Linked DNA regions of Homo sapiens: regions 1, 2, 3, 4, 5 and 7 are each linked to region 6. The links are contacts of gene promoters, found by promoter capture Hi-C in blood cells and fetal thymus (Javierre and others, 2016). All regions are on one chromosome and are shown on one strand. Each heading gives the region's core, a stretch centred on a gene start or on the middle of the fragment in contact. The rest is flanking DNA. Distances are from core to core; before and after follow the strand shown.

Evidence for each region. Contacts are between HindIII fragments. The CHiCAGO score rates a contact against its expected background, and 5 or more counts as called.
Region 1: a fragment that was not itself captured here is called in contact with the fragment with the promoter of ARSJ in region 6 in 2 of 17 cell types (M2 macrophages and M0 macrophages); the score reaches 5.4 in M2 macrophages.
Region 2: a contact is called between a fragment that was not itself captured here and the fragment with the promoter of ARSJ in region 6, in 4 of 17 cell types (activated CD4 T cells, naive B cells, total B cells and 1 more). The highest score is 7.1, in activated CD4 T cells.
Region 3: a contact is called between a fragment that was not itself captured here and the fragment with the promoter of ARSJ in region 6, in 1 of 17 cell types (M1 macrophages). The highest score is 5.8, in M1 macrophages.
Region 4: a fragment that was not itself captured here is called in contact with the fragment with the promoter of ARSJ in region 6 in 1 of 17 cell types (M2 macrophages); the score reaches 5.7 in M2 macrophages.
Region 5: a contact is called between a fragment that was not itself captured here and the fragment with the promoter of ARSJ in region 6, in 1 of 17 cell types (M2 macrophages). The highest score is 5.5, in M2 macrophages.
Region 7: a fragment that was not itself captured here is called in contact with the fragment with the promoter of ARSJ in region 6 in 1 of 17 cell types (M2 macrophages); the score reaches 5.1 in M2 macrophages.

Annotation. Positions count from the first base shown.
Region 1 is chr4:113,374,923-113,377,622 of GRCh38, reverse strand. All of the region lies in intron 45 of ANK2 (ankyrin 2), which reads right to left. Among named protein-coding and RNA genes, the nearest start is that of MIR8082, 220 kb to the right of the region's middle. The HindIII fragment of the contact is 753 bases long and covers 987-1,739 here.
Region 2 is chr4:113,411,409-113,414,108 of GRCh38, reverse strand. The region is part of intron 2 of LOC105377374 (a long non-coding RNA gene); the gene reads left to right. Among named protein-coding and RNA genes, the nearest start is that of MIR8082, 260 kb to the right of the region's middle. The HindIII fragment of the contact is 3,805 bases long and covers 1-2,700 here.
Region 3 is chr4:113,358,203-113,360,902 of GRCh38, reverse strand. ANK2 (ankyrin 2) reads right to left here. Exons shown (of 46, transcript NM_001148.6): 38 at 1,604-2,700; 39 at 6-80. Among named protein-coding and RNA genes, the nearest start is that of MIR8082, 210 kb to the right of the region's middle. The HindIII fragment of the contact is 214 bases long and covers 1,286-1,499 here.
Region 4 is chr4:113,269,371-113,272,070 of GRCh38, reverse strand. All of the region lies in intron 14 of ANK2 (ankyrin 2), which reads right to left. Among named protein-coding and RNA genes, the nearest start is that of MIR8082, 120 kb to the right of the region's middle. The HindIII fragment of the contact is 1,239 bases long and covers 815-2,053 here.
Region 5 is chr4:113,297,328-113,300,027 of GRCh38, reverse strand. All of the region lies in intron 22 of ANK2 (ankyrin 2), which reads right to left. Among named protein-coding and RNA genes, the nearest start is that of MIR8082, 150 kb to the right of the region's middle. The HindIII fragment of the contact is 5,350 bases long and covers 1-2,700 here.
Region 6 is chr4:113,978,390-113,981,089 of GRCh38, reverse strand. It overlaps ARSJ (arylsulfatase family member J), which reads left to right and starts at 1,443. Exons shown (of 2, transcript NM_024590.4): 1 at 1,443-2,653. The coding sequence starts at 2,256. LOC107986305 (a long non-coding RNA gene) reads right to left here and starts at 1,277. Exons shown (of 2, transcript XR_001741794.2): 1 at 1,104-1,277; 2 at 1-720. LOC124900762 (a long non-coding RNA gene) reads left to right here. Exons shown (of 3, transcript XR_007058237.1): 3 at 126-195. The HindIII fragment of the contact is 10,512 bases long and covers 1-2,700 here.
Region 7 is chr4:113,340,859-113,343,558 of GRCh38, reverse strand. It overlaps ANK2 (ankyrin 2), which reads right to left. Exons shown (of 46, transcript NM_001148.6): 33 at 1,643-1,871; 34 at 417-542. Among named protein-coding and RNA genes, the nearest start is that of MIR8082, 190 kb to the right of the region's middle. The HindIII fragment of the contact is 2,437 bases long and covers 137-2,573 here.

The DNA of each region.
Region 1 (2,700 bases), core at 114-2,613, 600 kb after region 6:
ATATATTATGGGTATAGTAGAGGACACACATACAGCATTTAGTGTCAAAATGTTCCAATAGCAAAAGTACTTTGTAGATGTTTGCACATGCCCAGGATCCCTTAGTCAAAACTTTGGGACCAGATGTGTTTCAAAATTTAGATTTTTTTGTCCCTTTTGGATTTTAGCAAGGTAATATAATGCATATACAGTCACATGCTACATAATGACATTTTGGTTAAAAATGGACTGCATATATGACATGGTCCCATAAGATTATAATGGAGCTAAAAAATTCCTGTCACCTAGTGATGCTATAGCTGTTCTAACTTCATGGTGCAATGTATTACTCAGATGTTTGTGGCGATGCTGGTGTAAATAAACCTACTAAGGTGCCAATCATATAAAAGCACAGCACATACAATTATGTAGGGTACATAATACTTGATAATGATAATAAATGACTATGTTACTGGTTTATGTACGGTAAATACATTTACTATGTATAGTAAATACATAAATCAGTAACAGTCACTTATTATCATTATCAAGTATTATAAAAGTGATACTTTTTATCACTATTTTAGAGTGTACTCTTTTACTTATTAAAAAACAGTTAATTATCAAGGAGCCTCAGGCAGGTCCTTCAGGAGGTATTGCAGAATAAGGCATTGTTTTCTTAGGATATGACAACTCCATATGTTATTGCTCCTGAATACCTTCCAGTGGGACAATATGTGGAGGAGGAAGACAGTGATATTGATTATTCTGACCTTGTGTAGGCCTAGGCTAATGTACATGCTTAGGCCTTTGTTTTTAGCCAAAAAAAAAAAAAAAAAAACCTTAAAAAGTAAAAACAAATAATAAATTTAAAAAATTAAAAGCAGAAAAAAGTTTATAGAACAAGGATATGAAGAAAAACAATTTTTAATGCACCTGTGCAATGTGTTTGCATCTTAACTTGTGTTATTACAAAAGAGTCAAAAGTTAAAATAAATGTAAAAGCTTATAAAGTCAAAGAGTTACAGTAAGCTAAAGTTAATTTATTATTGCAGAAGGAAGATTTAAAAAAATTAAAGGAAAATTTAAACAAATGTAACATAGCCTAAGTGTACAGTGTTTATAAAGTCTACTGTAGTGTATAATAACGTCCTAGGCTTTCACATTCTCTCACCACTCACTCACTGACTCTCCCAGAGCAACCTCCAGTCCTGCAAGCTACATGGTAAGTATGCTATACAGGTAGAACATTTTTAATCTTTTATTTTGTTTATCTACTGTACCTTTTCTATTTTTAGATAGGGAAATACTTACCATTGTGTTATAATTGCCTACAGTATTCAGCACAGTAACATGCTGTGCAGGTTTGTAGCCAGGAGCAATAGGTTATACCATATAACCTAGAAGTATAGTAGGCTATACCACCTAGGTTTGTGTAAGGACATTCTACAATGTTCACACAATGACAAAGTTGTCTAATGATGCATTTCCCAGCACATATCCCTGTCATTAAAACCCACTTATGCCTAGTGAACACTAGGCATGTGGAAGTTATTTATATCCTACTGCTCAAGGTCATCACCAAGGTCTGATTTTTCACTCATGCAAAAATTTTAAAAATGGCAACCTCTGGCATAAGTGGGTTAAGCAATGCATGACTGTACTATATAATACTAATACTCCAGAGCGAAGATGGCATCCTGTAATCAAACCCATTTTTATGTCACTAAAACATTCACTCTAGGTAGAATAAAAAAGCTTCATGTCATAATAGCTCCATGCCAATTTATTTCAAGTTTCACTTCCAAATTAACTTACAAAATTTGTTTTGGTTTTCAGCATTTGGGGATTTTAGTAAGAGTTTGTGGATCTGTTACTGTGGACCCATTTTCTTTTTCTTTTTTTTCTTTTTTTTTTTTGAGACGAATTCTCGCTCTGTTGCCCAGGCTGGAGGGCAGTGGTGCAATCTCGGCTCACTGCAAGCTCCGCCTCCCAGGTTCACACCATTCTCCTGCCTCAGCCTCCCGAGTAGCTGGGACTACAGGCACCCGCCACCACGCCTGGCTAATTTTTTGTATTTTTAGTAGAGACAGGGTTTCACCGTGTTAGCCAGGATGGTCTCGATCTCCTGACCTTGTGATCCGCCTGCCTCGGCCTCCCAAAGTGCTGGGATTACAGGTGTGAGCCACTGTGCCTGGCCAACCGTGGACCCATTTTCTAATTGTTGGAAACCAGAACTTAAGTAATTGTAAATGCTTTTAAAATTTATGGACATGGAATATATCTGAATTTTCTTTAATGTCTATCACAGATTATATTTGAAAAGACTGGCTAGCAAATATAATTTGCAATGTCTTTATTTCTTTCCCTTATTAATTGACAAAGCAAGACACTTCTGTGACTTTTAAACAAGATGTATAATCATATACCAGCTCCAGAGATTCTGAGTCTGATTCAGCAGAAGCAAATCCTAGTTACCTGGATTTTTAAAAGCTGTTAAGGTGACACCAATGAACACCACAGTTTAAGGAAACGTTACTCTGCAAGTTATTCAAACAGGAGTTCTACCCTCTTGAATTATTCTGCACCTTTCCATGAATTCATGTATAGAATGATACAATGACAAACGATTTTCTTTTCAAATGCAAAGCAACATAAAACACACACATAAAAAGACAAATGATGATGCTTCTATACCTCTTCAAAGTCATCTTTGGCTGA
Region 2 (2,700 bases), core at 29-2,528, 570 kb after region 6:
TTTCCCTCTTTTAATAAGGATACCAGTCAGATTAACGCCCACCCTAATGACCTCATCTTAATTTGATCACTGGCAAAGACCTTATTTCCAAATAAGATCACATTCACAGTTTCTGGGGGTTAGGATTTTATTCTGGTTTGGAGGGACACATTTCAACCCATAAACAAGAAGGAAAAGAGGCAATGTGATTCTGAATCACTGGTTACAATATCTGCCTTTCCAAGTTTGACCTTTTAAAAATGACACTGCCACCTGAGGCTTCCAGTCCCACCATCTGCTTTCTTTTCATATTTGCATAATTAACTCTCTCCTCTCCTTTTTTTTACCCTTTCCCCATCATTTCTCTCTTTTTTTCTGTGCAATGTGAATATCTAAGAACTTGATGCAGACTTTTGAGCCTTCTGTTTTTTTGTCTTTCAATTATCTCATTCATCAGATTAGCTTTAGCCACTGTGGATTATAACCTGCAGTTACTTGTTTAGCAGGGACTTCTAGGAATATATAGTCCTTAAACCCAGGGAAGAGGGGTCTGTGAAGAAGAGAAACATCAGCATCAGTGATGAGATGAATAGTGGCCAAGGAGAGGTGGGATTCTAAATCTGCAAGTCCATTAACCCGGGTCTGGACAATTGAGAAAATTCCCTGTAAAACTACTGATAAAATCTGTGCAATTCTTCCTGGTTGAGACAGGATGCCTCCTCATCCCAGAACCTGGCTGTTATTGTAGAGTAAAATTTGCCCTGGTCTGAAATGTGTATTTATGCCAAGGTGCCACTGGTGCTTCTGAAATAGTCCCTCAACTTACCCCTAGCAATATATACGTAGTACAAGAACCAGGTAAGCCCACTAGAAAATTAATCTAAAGCTCCTGGATCTAGGACTAGTGAGCAATTAGCATCTCTGTGGTTGGTGCTTTTTAGCAAGAAAAATCTAATTGTGTTTTAATGGTTTCTGGGACTGCAGTGTCATGAGTATTATTTCTTCTCTTTCAATCTACGTTTATTACCATGGATTAAATGTGTTTTTCATATTTCCCTCTGTACATTCTTGCTTTATATGTGTGCCTGTTCCAGATTGCATTCTAAGATTGTAAACTGCCATAGTAGTGTTCCCCAAACTGTGGCATGCATAAAAATCATTGAGAAATTTATTTTTAAAAATCCGTATATAGGTCCGGGAACAGTGGCTCACACCTGTAATCCTAGGACTTTGAGAGGCCGAGGTGGGTGGATCACCTGAGGTCAGAGGTTCAAGACCAGCCTGGCCAAAATGTCAAAACCCCATCTCTACTAAAAATACAAAAATTAGCTGAGCATGTTGGCGCATGCCTGTAATCCCAGCTACTCAGGAGGCTGATACAGGAGAATCACTTGAACCCAGGAAGCGAAGGTTGCAGTGAGCTGAGATTGGGCCACTGCACTCCAGCCTGGACAACAGAGTGAGATGGAAAAAAAAAATTCTTGTATGGGTTTACTACCTAAAGAGATTCTGAATCAAGATCTGGAAGAGGGATCTTAGAACCTGTATTTGTAACAAGTACCCTCTTTGGTTCTGATACAGCTGATCCTTGGATCCCATTTTAAGAAACATAAACCAAGAAGGTGGGAACTGATTTCTTTTAAGATTACTTATATCACTCATGAGGATTGCCCCAGGCCGGTAGATATTTAACCAACTCTAGTTGTTGGCTGCTGATGTTAATTGTCTGCTAAGTACATCTTATGGCCAACTTGCTGTACAGAAATTGAGTTTCATATAGTCCATTAGCCACTGAGAAACAGAAGAAAAGCCTGATGGATTTTCTTCCTGAATGGTAGAGATGAGCATCAATGTTTAAACAAGCCTGGAAAACTCCCTCTTTTCTTTGATGCCCTGTAATTCCTTTATTACAACGGGTCTTGTGGATTGCTATTTTTGTATGGATAACAACATATAGATGAAAAAGCATTTGTACGTACAGAGATGTACTCATTTCTCCCTCTCTGTGGCCCATCACCCTGTCACCTCTCTTCACATTTTCCTGCTGTCAGTTGAGGAAGATGCATTTATTTTATCAATCACAAAAATATTGCCCACAAAGAGAAGTACCTCATTAGGGCCAGAAGCACTGTGCCCTAGCTAAATAAATTTTCACCTAGCAGGCAAGGAAAACTGAGAAATACAAGCCCCCACTAGGGCTAAGGTTCCAGCATAGACAGAGCCCTAATTTTGATGCCTCCAGCAGACACTTCCTCTGACTCCCTTTGGGGAAGCATAGCACCCCACGTTCCCCTTATCCCATGACAGCCCTTATCTAGAATTGCATCATTGACAGTTCACTTGTCTGAATCTCATTCTAATTTCTCCTTGAGGAGTAGGAACTATGTCACAATCATCTGTGTATCCACAGCTCTTGGCAAACTGCCTGACCTAAAGTAGGCGATGAATCAATAAACTAAGCTCCTGGAAAAGTAGAGCTAGTTCTCCTAAATGCTTCTAGGGAAATTCCTAGTTTCTGTGGTGGTGTTGGGTCTGTACTGGAATTCACCCGGCAGCCCAGCCAGTTCCCAGTGTCTCCACCTTGCGTTGCATCTGCTTCACTAGATTTGTTCTAGAAGAATTGGTTGGAAAGAGATTTTTTTAAAAATCATCTTAAGCTCCCAAATATAAAATGTCCAAGGTACAGAGCAGGCTCAGAAACATGAAGGAGTGGTGTGTGTT
Region 3 (2,700 bases), core at 143-2,642, 620 kb after region 6:
TTTACCTGTCCAGCTGAAGCCAAGGTGATCAGCAATATAAGCCAGCCTTTCCTCGATCCGTTCCTGCTCATCCTGTGGATCTGGAGAAGGTCAAAAACAGAATGGCCAAAGGTTGTCTATGACAGGAGAGGAACCACAGTACTGATTCATTCAAAGAAAGGAAGTCACTTCTCCAAATATTTGAAAGCACAAACTAGATACTACATTTCAGATCATATTGTGTGTCTGATTTCTGGGGTGGAATGGGGAATAGATCTAATATGAATCATGAAAACCATCTGCTTCCATATCTCTTTAATCAAGACTAGTTCTAGACATAATTATATAAGTTGCTGATTTCTAGTAATCTTATGACTTTTAAATTATTGGAGAGAATACTGCCCACCAAGAAGACCACCATCTTGTTCATGAAACACCAGAGAAATCATAAATGGGATGCAGAAGTAGAGCAATTGGCTAGGACCTCCTATTATTGCTTGTGGAGGGATAGATCATTTCCAGGTCATGTCTGAAAGGAATCACATCAGAGATTCACAAGAGATGTTGATCATGAGCTGATCAGGCCATCCTGATTAGTGTGGCCAGAAACAACATTTGGTCCTGGTGACCTTGGAGAAACGAGGATAAAAGCATATGCATTTTTATGTGTATATTGTATCTGTATGCATATATGTCTTTTGGGCAAAGTTTCTGCCTTCTTGCTATTAAGCTTATATACTACTCACTCCTATAAACTATAATTTTCCCATTCATGTTTAACTCCCACTGATTGATAGGCAGCATTTTAGACCATGGTATAGGAAAGTTTGTATAACCTCAATTTAAGAATGACAGTCTTCATTGTAGAGATATTGGAAGAACACAGGCTACTTTTCAAAGCCATCTATGGTTTCCTTTTTTATAAGTCAAAGAGCCATCATCCCCTCACAGTCAACTTAAACTGTGCAAAGTTTGAGTTTTTGTTGTCTGCTGCATCTAATGAGAGTACATTCTCCATTCATCTACCACATAAATGAAAAGCATATTTTTACCTTAGGTTTGTTTGCTTAAAGTATTTACCAATGGTATCTGAAATCCAACCTTTCTGAATCAAAAACAGATCCACAACAATTAGAATTTCATGTTATGTGAAATCTTCTCAAGCAAATGGCTTCCTAATGATTACAAAATTGTAAGTACAAATTATTTTAAAGTATGCGAAGATAAGAAGAAAAGCAATGTCTTCATACTATGAAACAAAATACAATATATTTATGTGCAAAAGTGCTTAATTTGAGTCTAAGCTTGGGACTTCAGAACAACAAAACTCAAAGCTCGCATGGCCTTATTACGTGCAGAGGCTAAAAAAGGCAAGATCACTGTTGCCCGGTTATTATGTTTATGTTTTCCATAAGCATTCTCATTACTCAATCTTGAGATTGTTTTCTTAGACAAGAGTATACAGAGAAAGCACAAAACACAAAGGGCTTACACAAACACATTAGCCACTACAGAAAGCTTAAAGAAAATGAGACACAAATCATCAAATAAAACAAACATACAAAAAAACTATATCAATTTTATGACATGCGTAGCACAGGGAATCCCGGTGGCTGGCAAATACCTTCAGCATGGTCATGGCCATTTTCATCAGGGATGCGTTCAATCAGAGTCTCAATAGACTCATCCCAAATGGGCCTTGTGTCAAAGATGTCCTCAGGAACTGAGTGCTCGGTCTCAACAGGTGGCAGATTTTCAATTACTGATACTTCCAGGGCACTACTACTTTCATCGTCTGAAACTATTTCCTGCTCCCTCTCTGACTGTGTCAGCCTATCCACTAATTTGGAAGCCTCATCACTAATCTCCTCAAAGAATTCTATGGAATTTCTGTAAAGGTCAAAGAAATGCTCCTTACTTTCTTTTGTGGGGCTCGTGCCCCCCCTGCAGGAAGATGTAGTGCTTCTGCTCTTAACTGGCAATCGGGATGTAAGTATCTTTGGTCTTGTGGCCCCTTCTTCTGATTCTAACTCAAGTTCCTCGGCCCTCTCTCTGCTCTCTGTTTCTGTCTCAGTGTAACTTCGGGTTTTTACTGGGCATTTGGTCTTTGAATCCAAAGAACTAGCATCAGATTCAGATTTGCTTCTATTATCTGGTGCGATGCTTGCCATGTCCTGTCCCTGAGGAGCCACTGTCTTCTGGACAGAGGTGTCTAGATCTGAGAGCTGCTGTTCAACTCTTTGGAGGGGTACTTTGACAGGGAGTTTGGACTTTGGTTTTGCTTCATCCGCCTTATTTTCCTCATCTACACTGGATAGAAAATCTTCAGAAACTGAACTCTCATACTCTGCAGATGGAGGTGCTGGGGTGGAAGTGGGCATAGTCCTTACAGGAATTTTGGATTTGCTTTCAGTAAAAGGCACATTCTCCATGGGTGCAGTAGGAATCTCGATTACTGATTTCTGTTCTTCTGGGGAAGAATCGGGAGAATCATCACCCCTATCTGAATAAACAGACCTGGTGAGTGTGGAAAAATCTAACTGGACTTGTACAGCTGGTTCAGAAGAGTCGGGGCAGGATATCTGCTTTACACCAGAGAGAGGAGGTATATCACCCGTTTGCACGGTGGGGAGGTCCTTGGTCCCTACACTAACAGCTTCTTTTGTAGGTGTTTCAGTGGAGGCTGAAATCCCCATTTGGGAGTTAAGTTGAGCATCCGAA
Region 4 (2,700 bases), core at 185-2,684, 710 kb after region 6:
ATGAGCTAAGTTTCAAGTGAGTTTAAGCCTAGGACCCCTGGGATTGCTCGATCCCTAAAGCAAATGCCAAGCCCTGTAATTGTGCCAACAGAACCAGCTCCTAAAGCAAGAGAGCTCCCAGATGGTCAGGCTCTGGTGGCCTTCTCAGTAATGTCCACTGAGGACACTGGACAAGGAAGGACCTTCCTGCGAGCAGGACCTGGGTGCAAACACATTGGCTGACAGAGGAACTGAGGCCACTGTGGTCCCCTGCTCTCCAGTCTGTCCAGCAAAATGTGTCTTATGCTCTGGACTGGTGAATAGAGTGTTCTGCGTGAACTTTAAAAATTACAGATGTTATTATGAGTATATGGTTTTTCTTTTGTTATATATTGTGAATAGGCAAAACATATGACTTAGACCCATGAGATATTATTTCTAAACCTGATTGAGAAGATTGTGAACTACGCAGCAATCTCAACCTTGGAGCTCAATGTAGTAGCTTGGCACAATTTTTTACTATCTCTTCTTCGGGAGAGGGTGAATTCTCGAGCAATGTTATTAGGTTTAGAGAGGAAGTTTCCAAAAGTGTGTGTGTGTGTGTGTGTGTGTCTGTGCGTGCATGTGCACGCATGCGTGCGGTGAGAAATCAAGAGGTAAAATAGCAGATATGTGCTCATTTTTCTGCCCAATACCCCCTGCACCCTTCTTCTGGGACAGCCATCCCTCATTTGGGGGAAACGGACATCCCATATTCCATGTGGTTCTAGAAGGGCTGCTGGTCTTCTTATCCCACCTCATAAATGGGCCGCATGAATGCGCATGAGCCCAAGCTTGATCTTTTATCCTGATCATAGTCATAAGCTCAGGGAAAGAATGTGACTAATTAGAAACCAGTGGTTTGTTCGGATGGGAGGAAGAGGGGCTCTCTTTACATTTGAAGTGGGAGATAATGACGTTAGCAGAAAGAGTTAGGAGAAAGATGCGGAATCAGAGGAGAAATCTTTTTCTTATCTTAACTCTGTCACCACAGGTTAATCAGCACAATCTTGAATTTCAGGACGCTAAGCCACCCTACAACACAGGAATCCTCTGGGTATCAAATAAGACACTTTGTGTTTAAATGCTTGATGAATTCTAAAGCACTGTTCAAATGTTAACTAAATCAGAGGCCCAGGAACACATTAAAAGGATTAAATGACAATAAAACACACATGGTGAAAGTACGCTTTAAAATAGGACTTATGAATAGGAAAACCCTAACTTCTTGCTGCTTGAAACATAATCCCAAAATCAGCAGCCCTGACATCACCTGAGAGTTTGTTAAATATGCAGAACTGACTTACAATATGCATTCTAGCAGGGTGCCCAGGTAATTTGTATGCATATTGACCTTTAGGGAGCACTGCTTCACAAGGCTACAGTATTTTTGTTTGTTCACAATAGAAAATGCTATAGGGAAGGGATTTCAGTTGTAGCTTAGAATGGGAGGTAGAGCTGAAAAGAAAAAAAATAAACAAAAGATAACATCTGAAATTTGATATTTAAATTAGAAGGAATAAGGAATTAAGAGGTAGCTATATATGTATTAATGATACTAAATGTAGTTGCAAAAGAGAAGTAAAAAAGTAGAATTGATGAAATCTTTGTGTAAAATTAACTAATTAATTAATATTTTAAAGGAAAGACTCTGTTGCCAGTGGTGCTTTTAAGGAAGAGGCTTCAGAGGGTATCCAAAAAGATAAAAGGTTGTAATAATGGGTTATATCAATACAGAAAAATTTGGCAGAGACACATGAAAATGAATAAATTTCCATTAAAAGTAGAAATTTTAATTTGAATAATAAACATTAAGGGGTTTTACTTTAAGACAGAAATGGGAAACTCTTTCATTATTAAATACGAATTACAAAAAATTTACAGGAACATCAACACAATTTCCAGTAAAGTATACGATAGTCAGAGTGCACTGGTTGACCATAGAAAATATTTTTCAAATAGCTGAATGCCAGGTAACCTTAAAAGGAAACCAGAAAAATGTTATGGCAGGGGAAGCTCATGGTTGAATAAAGCTTTAAATAGATAAGAATATAATAGATCAATGATGATTACCAAAGAACATAAATTACACTATGTGGACAATGCACAGAAAGGCAGATGAAAACCAAGACAACAAGAGTAATGTTAAGGCTACCCGTGTATCACTGGATTCTGCATGAAGATCTGTGGAACCTGTTACAAGAAAATGTCTATTAAATTCATTGAATCAAAGAATGTTAAGAAAGTCTAGAAAGGAGTTTTGAGTTTCTGAGTCCAACCCTCATATTTTACTGATAAAGACTTGGAAGTGGCCGGAGGCTGGCAAGATGGCTGAATAGGAACAGCTCCCATCTGCAGATCCCAGCGAGATCAACACAGATGGCAGGTGATTTATGCATTTCCAACTGAGGTATCTGGCTCATCTCACTGGGATTGGTTAGACAGTGGGTGCAGCCCATGGAGGGCAAGCCAAAGCAGGGTGGGGCTTCACTTCACCTGGAAAGCACAAGGGGTCAGGGAACTCCCTCCCCTAGGCAAGGGAAGCCGTGAGGGACCGTGCCATGAGGAATGGTGCACTCTGGCCCAGATACTACGCATTTCCCATGGTCTTTGCAACCTGCAGACCAGGAGGTTCCCTCGGGTGCCTACATCACCAGGGCCCTGGGTTTCAAGCACAAAACT
Region 5 (2,700 bases), core at 21-2,520, 680 kb after region 6:
AAATTATAGCCCATATTCTGTATTAGTGGTATTCAACTATAGCTACATATTACAATTATTAGAAACATTTAAAAAATATTGTTGCTTGGGTCCCATCATAGACCAATTAAATCAAAATCCATAGGGATCGGGCCCAGCTATAATGGGGACCAGGGTATTTTTTAAAGGTTCCTTAGGTGGGTTTATTGCACAGCTCAATTTGAGATTCATTTTCCTGTATTAGGGAAAGTATATAAATTGCAGGAAAATGATTTGCATTTAAAATATAACATAGAGACTACCCTACTATGAAATCTTATTCAACTTTTTTTTTTTTTTTTTTGAGATGTCGTTTCACTCTTGTTGCCCAGGCTGGAGTGCAATGGCACGATCTCAGCTCACTGCAACCTCCGCCTTCCAGGTTCAAGCCATTCTCCTGCCTCAGCCTCCCAAATAGCTGGGATTACAGGTGTGCACCAGCACGCCTGGCTCATTTGTGTATTTGTAGTAGAGATGGGGCTTCACCATGTTGGCCTGGCTGGTCTCGAACACTTGACGTCAGGTGATCCACCTACCTCGGCCTCCCAAAGTGCTGGTATTACAGATGTGAGCTACCGCGGCTGACCTTTATTCAACTTTTTGGGAATATTTAAAAATGTGAAAGGATGTCTACTATATTAGACTGTATTAGAAAGTTAATTTTTGCAGAAATGTTTTAGAGTATTTGTCCTTCGTAGTAAACATTTCAATAAGGAGATGATTCTCTGTTTGAAAATAATTACTGGAGATACTTTTTAAATGATTAAGTTTCATTGCCTGATAGTCTCAGTTTCTATTTTCAGGTGCTGATAATGGGACTATATTTTCTTTGTACTTGTAAGAGTGGAAACAATAATTTACTTCAGTTTGGTCACTGAATGCTATCAGAATTATCAGCAAATATATGTGGCAACAGAAAAAGTAATACACTGTGATCATATTGGTCATGGATATTTTTCTGTATAGATATTAAAAATGGCCTCTATATGCAATGTGGTAAATATAATATCATTTATACATGAGAAGGTATTTGACCTTTAGAAGGCCATCATTAAATATTTGTTGAATGGATGGAAAATAAGTAGTCCTACATATGTATAATGTAACAAGAAATGAATACATATTTTCCTTTTAAACAAAATGTCCTTTGAAAACTTGATTATTTAAACATAAACATGGTTTTATGCAACTACCTCTGAATCGTACATAGAGAACAAGGCTATAGTGAAATGATCATGGACATCTCTTTCTGCTACAGAATCCAAGATACTATGGTCAAGATTAGAAACTACTTTAAAAGTTAAAATGAGTAGGACACTAAGTACAAGTTTAATGGGATATAATTAAATCGGATAATATGGCAAAAGAAATGGTATATAATAGATGGAAGAGAGATTTAATAATGAATTTATATTGTTAATCACGATATGAAAAATGTAGAAAATAAAGTAGGAGTTCTTAACATTCTGCTTTACAAATAGTAGTCAATATCTGATTTGTTCTATGCAAAAGAAACTGTGTGTTTAACTGATCTTCACTTAGCCAACCCTCACTCAGCCAATCCTCCTGGTCACCAATTGCATTTATATCACATAATCCCTAAGCCACCACAGCATACTTAGTGATCTTGGTTATGATGCCACCTTTTAAGGCCCTCATCCATAGCTTCCATCAGTGGAGTTCAAGCTAAACTTGTTTTTGTTTCTAAACATACTTATACCAATCATACATATTAATATAACTTTAATAACTAAATTAAATATTATGTAAATACTGTTTTTTTTCTAGAAAAACTAGGGTAGATGTTTTTTGAAGTCCTAACAAAGGTGAGTCACTGAAAGTAATACCCAATTAGATGTAATTGAGACAATTATAACAGGTTGAAAAAACATGTCAAAAGTCTAAAAAGATTCTGCACTAAGTATGTCTTTTTAAGAAAATACACAGCAGGGGCTCAGGACTGTAATCCTAGCATTTTGGGAGGCCAAGGCAGGTGGATCGTTTGAGACGAGCCTGGACAACGTGGCAAAACCCCGTCTCTACAAAACAATACAAAAATTAGCCAGGAGTGGTGGCACCTGCCCACCTACTACTCCCGAGTAGTCCCTGTTACTCTGGAAGCTAAGATGGGAGGATCACCTGAGCTGCAGTGAACCGTGATAGTACCACTACACTTCAGCCTGGGCAACAGCGTGAGATCCTGTCTCAAAAAAAAAGAAAGAAAAGGAAAGTACACAGAACATACAAATATCATATAAATATACATATTATAGCATATATATACATAATATAATAGGTATTGATATTGTTTGTGCAAGAATGGCAATTTAATTTCTAATCGATGGACCTATATTTAAAGAAAAGATCTTGGCTCTACCTCAAAAGGTGTCAAATGACTTTACAAGTATTTATTGTATTGCCATTTTTATGGCTCCTATTTTTAAAATTTTTAAATTGTTGTGGATACACAGTTGTACATACTTACGGGGTACAAGTGATATTTTGATATAAACATAAGTATAATGATCAAATCAGGGTAATTGGGATATCCATCACCTCAAACATTTATCATTTCTTTTTAAAGTCCTAACAAAGGTGAGTCACTGAAAGTAATACCCAATTAGATGTAATTGAGACAATTATAACAGGTTGAAAAAACATGTCAAAAGTTTAAAAAGATTC
Region 6 (2,700 bases), core at 194-2,693:
ACCTCTCAATGCTTTTCAATCCCCTGACACTCAGTACTCTCATTACATATTTGGTGACTTAATTTACAGAATTGCTAAACTCACATTTCTGAACATGGCTTCTAAAACTGACTATCTCTCCCCAGCTTAGCCAGAAGGGCTGCAAGGAAGAACAGAGACCAGAAGGCCTACAGCAGCTAGCAAGGTTAACTTCATGGAGCACCATCGTGCCTTTCAAAGTTCCCATTTCACAAAGTTTTGCCTGGGAACTCAGCAGGAACTTTAGCAACAGGAGAGAATTAGAAATAAATGGCTAAATGAAACCTAGATTTATGTTTCAGTCAATTGAGAGAATCTGACATGTTATGTGCCAGCCCACAGTAGGTATTCAGTAAGTAACTGTTGAATAAATTTGGTGGTAGAAAAAAATATCTCAGTGGCTCTTGGCATTCATTGCCTCTTCTATAGAGACTATACTATACATCCCTCTGCTGCCTTTGAGCAGGACTTTAAAACTCTATGACTCTAGTAAAATCAAGAGTATTTTCACAACCAAGATAAGTTTTTACAATGGTTTTCCTCCACATGGTAAAAAAGAAAGAAGGAAAAAAAATGATGAAGCTCCCTGAATTACTGGATGGGAAACACTGGCTTCTTTAATGCAGGAATGCAGACTGGCTTCGGGGTTCTTGAAGGAGAAATGCATAACTCTTCCTCTCCAGGCTTTTGGCTGGAGACACCCTGTGGGTAAGTTAGGGGAGAGGTAAGAGGGAGCGGGCAATTCCAGTATTTTCACATAGGGAAAGGGTAACGAAGAATCAGGCTGTAAAAGCCAGCTATTGGGAGAGGAAATAAAACTTAAAAATTTGTCATCGTTACTGAAAAAAAAAAAAAAAAAGGTAGGGACAAAAGGAATAGGAAAATGATGGGGGTGGGGGGACTAGTAAAGGAAAACCTGCAAAGGAAGTTGGAAAGAGGAAAGAGTGTCATACGCATTTTGTTTTTATTCCTGCTCCTTCTCTCTCACTCCCTCCAGAAGCTAGAAAAAGTTTGCAAGCGCAACTTTAGGGATGGGAGACGGGGCTCTTCACCAACAGCCCCACGAAAAGAAGTGCCCGCTTTACCCTTCCCCATTCGCGCCGCCGTCCTTTCCCTCTAGCGGGGTGATGGGCAGGAGGCGACACTCTTGGGACGCGGTAGCCCAGGCGGATCCCCCGGAATCCCGCTGGGCTGGAGCAGCACGCAGCTCTCTCTCTGGCAAAGCCTCCTCTGCCTTGGCCATCCACCTCCCGGAAAAGAAAAAGGAAAGATCGAGCCTCTAAACAGTCCTTTTCCCCCACCCCCTCTTCCCGGGGGAGCTCAGGAAGAAAGTACCGTTCTGTGATTCACTGGAGAGAAAAGAGGGAGGAGGCAAAAGAACTCGGAGTGCCAAAGCTAAATAAGTTAGCTGAGAAAACGCACGCAGTTTGCAGCGCCTGCGCCGGGTGCGCCAACTACGCAAAGACCAAGCGGGCTCCGCGCGGACCGGCCGCGGGGCTAGGGACCCGGCTTTGGCCTTCAGGCTCCCTAGCAGCGGGGAAAAGGAATTGCTGCCCGGAGTTTCTGCGGAGGTGGAGGGAGATCAGGAAACGGCTTCTTCCTCACTTCGCCGCCTGGTGAGTGTCGGGGAGATTGGCAAACGCCTAGGAAAGGACTGGGGAAAATAGCCCTGGGAAAGTGGAGAAGGTGATCAGGAGGCCGGTCCACTACGGCAGTTTATCTGTCTGATCAGAGCCAGACGCGACGCGTCCACTTCGCAGTTCTTTCCAGGTGTGGGGACCGCAGGACAGACGGCCGATCCCGCCGCCCTCCGTACCAGCACTCCCAGGAGAGTCAGCCTCGCTCCCCAACGTCGAGGGCGCTCTGGCCACGAAAAGTTCCTGTCCACTGTGATTCTCAATTCCTTGCTTGGTTTTTTTCTCCAGAGAACTTTTGGGTGGAGATATTAACTTTTTTCTTTTTTTTTTCCTTGGTGGAAGCTGCTCTAGGGAGGGGGGAGGAGGAGGAGAAAGTGAAATGTGCTGGAGAAGAGCGAGCCCTCCTTGTTCTTCCGGAGTCCCATCCATTAAGCCATCACTTCTGGAAGATTAAAGTTGTCGGACATGGTGACAGCTGAGAGGAGAGGAGGATTTCTTGCCAGGTGGAGAGTCTTCACCGTCTGTTGGGTGCATGTGTGCGCCCGCAGCGGCGCGGGGCGCGTGGTTCTCCGCGTGGAGTCTCACCTGGGACCTGAGTGAATGGCTCCCAGGGGCTGTGCGGGGCATCCGCCTCCGCCTTCTCCACAGGCCTGTGTCTGTCCTGGAAAGATGCTAGCAATGGGGGCGCTGGCAGGATTCTGGATCCTCTGCCTCCTCACTTATGGTTACCTGTCCTGGGGCCAGGCCTTAGAAGAGGAGGAAGAAGGGGCCTTACTAGCTCAAGCTGGAGAGAAACTAGAGCCCAGCACAACTTCCACCTCCCAGCCCCATCTCATTTTCATCCTAGCGGATGATCAGGGATTTAGAGATGTGGGTTACCACGGATCTGAGATTAAAACACCTACTCTTGACAAGCTCGCTGCCGAAGGAGTTAAACTGGAGAACTACTATGTCCAGCCTATTTGCACACCATCCAGGAGTCAGTTTATTACTGGAAAGTAAGTGTTCCTACTTCTTATATTTATTCCTTGGAGAAATCTTAAGC
Region 7 (2,700 bases), core at 106-2,605, 640 kb after region 6:
AGATGCTGGGTCTTTTGAGAGATTTTATTACAAAAAGTTGCCACTTAGAACTCTTTTGATCTCCACACTTGTGAAGTTCACGTGTATTTTTAAATCTAAGCATAAATATTTAAAAGTTATAATAGATAAATAAGCTTTCCTTCAAATTTGGAAAATACCGGTCACTGTGCCTAATTAATGAGTTGGCTATTATTTGTCCTGTTCTCATCCTTAAATATAGTCTATAAAAATTCAGGTTGACTTTGAACCTCAAAAATAAAAATGATTTGTTTCCCAGGGCTGTAAAACGTTACAAATATGGTTAAAAAGAAAACTCTGAAGATGACTGAAAAGCGAAAATTTTCTATTACTAAAGGAAGTCAAATTCTGCCTTGATCTTGAAAAAAATGCATCACAAAATTCCATGTATATATTACCTTGACAAATAGAGGAAGTCTATTTTCTTTGAAGGCAAAAAAACTGAATATATGATGCTGGCCACTTTTAGTTAATGGTACCAAGTTGCCGAAACAATCAACGTAGATGGGTTTTCCTTCTAACACCTGAGTGAAAACAGAGAGAAATAACAATAAAGTAGCTGCAATTATACTTGTTGTTTACACAAAGAAGTGGTAGTACTACTTGGAACTTCAAATTCTTATAATACACATACAACCATCTTTAAATTGACAACTGACATTCTGTCTATCTGTGACACAGCATGTCCAGCACTCTTTCTTCTTACTAGTAATGGGAATCTTTAATGCATGGTGACATTTAATGTTCTCATTCCAAAAAGTGTATCCCATTATTCCACAACCCCAAAATACATTTAAATCCTAAATTTAAACTTATGCTTGGGTAATTTTTTTTTTTTTTTGAGACGGAGTCTCACTCTGTTGCCCAGGCTGGAGTGCAGTGGTGCGATCTTGGCTCACTGCAACCTCCGCCTCCCGGGTTCAAGCAATTCTCCTGCCTCTGCCTCCTGAGTAGCTGGGATTACAGGCATCTGCCACCACGCCCAGCTAATTTTGTATTTTTAGTAGAGATAGGGTTTTGCCATGTTGGCCAGGTTGGTCTCGAACTGGTGACCTCAGATGATCCACCCACCTCGGCCTCCCAAAGTGCTGGGAATACAGGCGTGAACCACCACACCTGGCCTGCTTGGGTAACTTTTGACATCACAATGAGTCAGGTTACTGGACTTCAACACCCAAAGACCTACACTGATGGAAAATTCTGAAATAAGAAAAAGTAATGTAGAAAAGCACTAGACACCCTGCTTCAACATTTATGCAAAAAGATATACTTCCCAGACTGTTTTAGTTACTATTAAAAAATAAGGACAACAAGGAAAGCTAAAAACATCTAAAGTACTACAGTCACTTACATACTTTGAGTTTATCAATAACTCATAATTTTTCCTCAAATAATCTTTAAAGGAATCATCTTACCTTCTCACATGCACAGATCATTCCTATTGAATAGGTCCAAAATGGCTAAAAATGGCAGATTTTGGATGTTGACCTTCTAACTGACCAAAATGCGAACTTGTCTTTCACTTTTTAATTATTCTATTTATTAAATGATATTTGAAATGTAATCTATTAATGCAGGTATAACAACATGGCATAAATTATTATTATTATTTTTGGTACAGTACCTCCACATCCCTGCTTCTGGCCACCTCAGCAAAATTTTCTTGTTGTTCAAGGGTCTTATCCACTTTATCATCAGTCATGCAGAAACACCTCAACCTGGCTTCAATGGGGTCATGTGATTTGGCAAACACTACAAATTTGGCCATATAAGGTACGCAGATAATTTCTCTGTATACTTGTGATGCAAAAGTAACGGATTCCTGGATCTGTCGACAATCTATCAGCCAGAACCTATTAAAATAAATAAAGTCAGTTATCTAAAGTTCAAAGTATACCATGTGAAAAATAAAATCAGTTCCTTCAATATGATCAAAGTAGTCAACAAATGCTTCTTGGAAAAAAGGAAGTGAGAGAGGGAGATAATGAGAGAAGGCCAAAGGAAAGAAATAGCAAGACAGGAACAAAAGGAAAGGTAGGAGGAAAGAAGGGAAAGCAGAAGGGAGTGAAGAGAAGAGAGAAAGATATCAGGTTTAAGATCAACTATTAAATACTGTATTTCTAATTTTCTTTTTTGGAAACTCTTCTGAATATTCAGTTTTCTGAACTATATATTTAGTGTTTTGGAATCCTTTAGTGGAGTGAACTCAATAGCAGACATAAGACAAGGATCTCACTGCATAGTTTTCTATTTTCCTTGATCCCCCCTCCCTAGCTGTCATTTCATTTCCTGAAACTCTTTTCAACAAAATCTACCCAGCTTTTCCTCCCCTCGTTATTCTTTTCCATGGAACTCTAATCACCAAAGTGGAATCAACCCAACCATTTTAAAAAACCTGCTCCAGAACTCCTAAGTATTGCTGAATATAATTCATAGAAGAAATTATTGGCTATAATGACTTTATGATTTCCAGCCTCAACTAAGTCTGTGACATTGACTGGCAATTTTTTGTTCACTATGGTAACGTTACTAAATCTTATGACACTCTTTAAGCTTCATCCCTCACCACAGGCCCTAAGAGAGCTAACTTCACAAAGAAAGTCGAGGTCATTAGATGGAAATATTTTCATTTTGTTATTTTATACTTCCAAAGGGTTTGTTTTTTTTGTTTGTTTTTCTTTT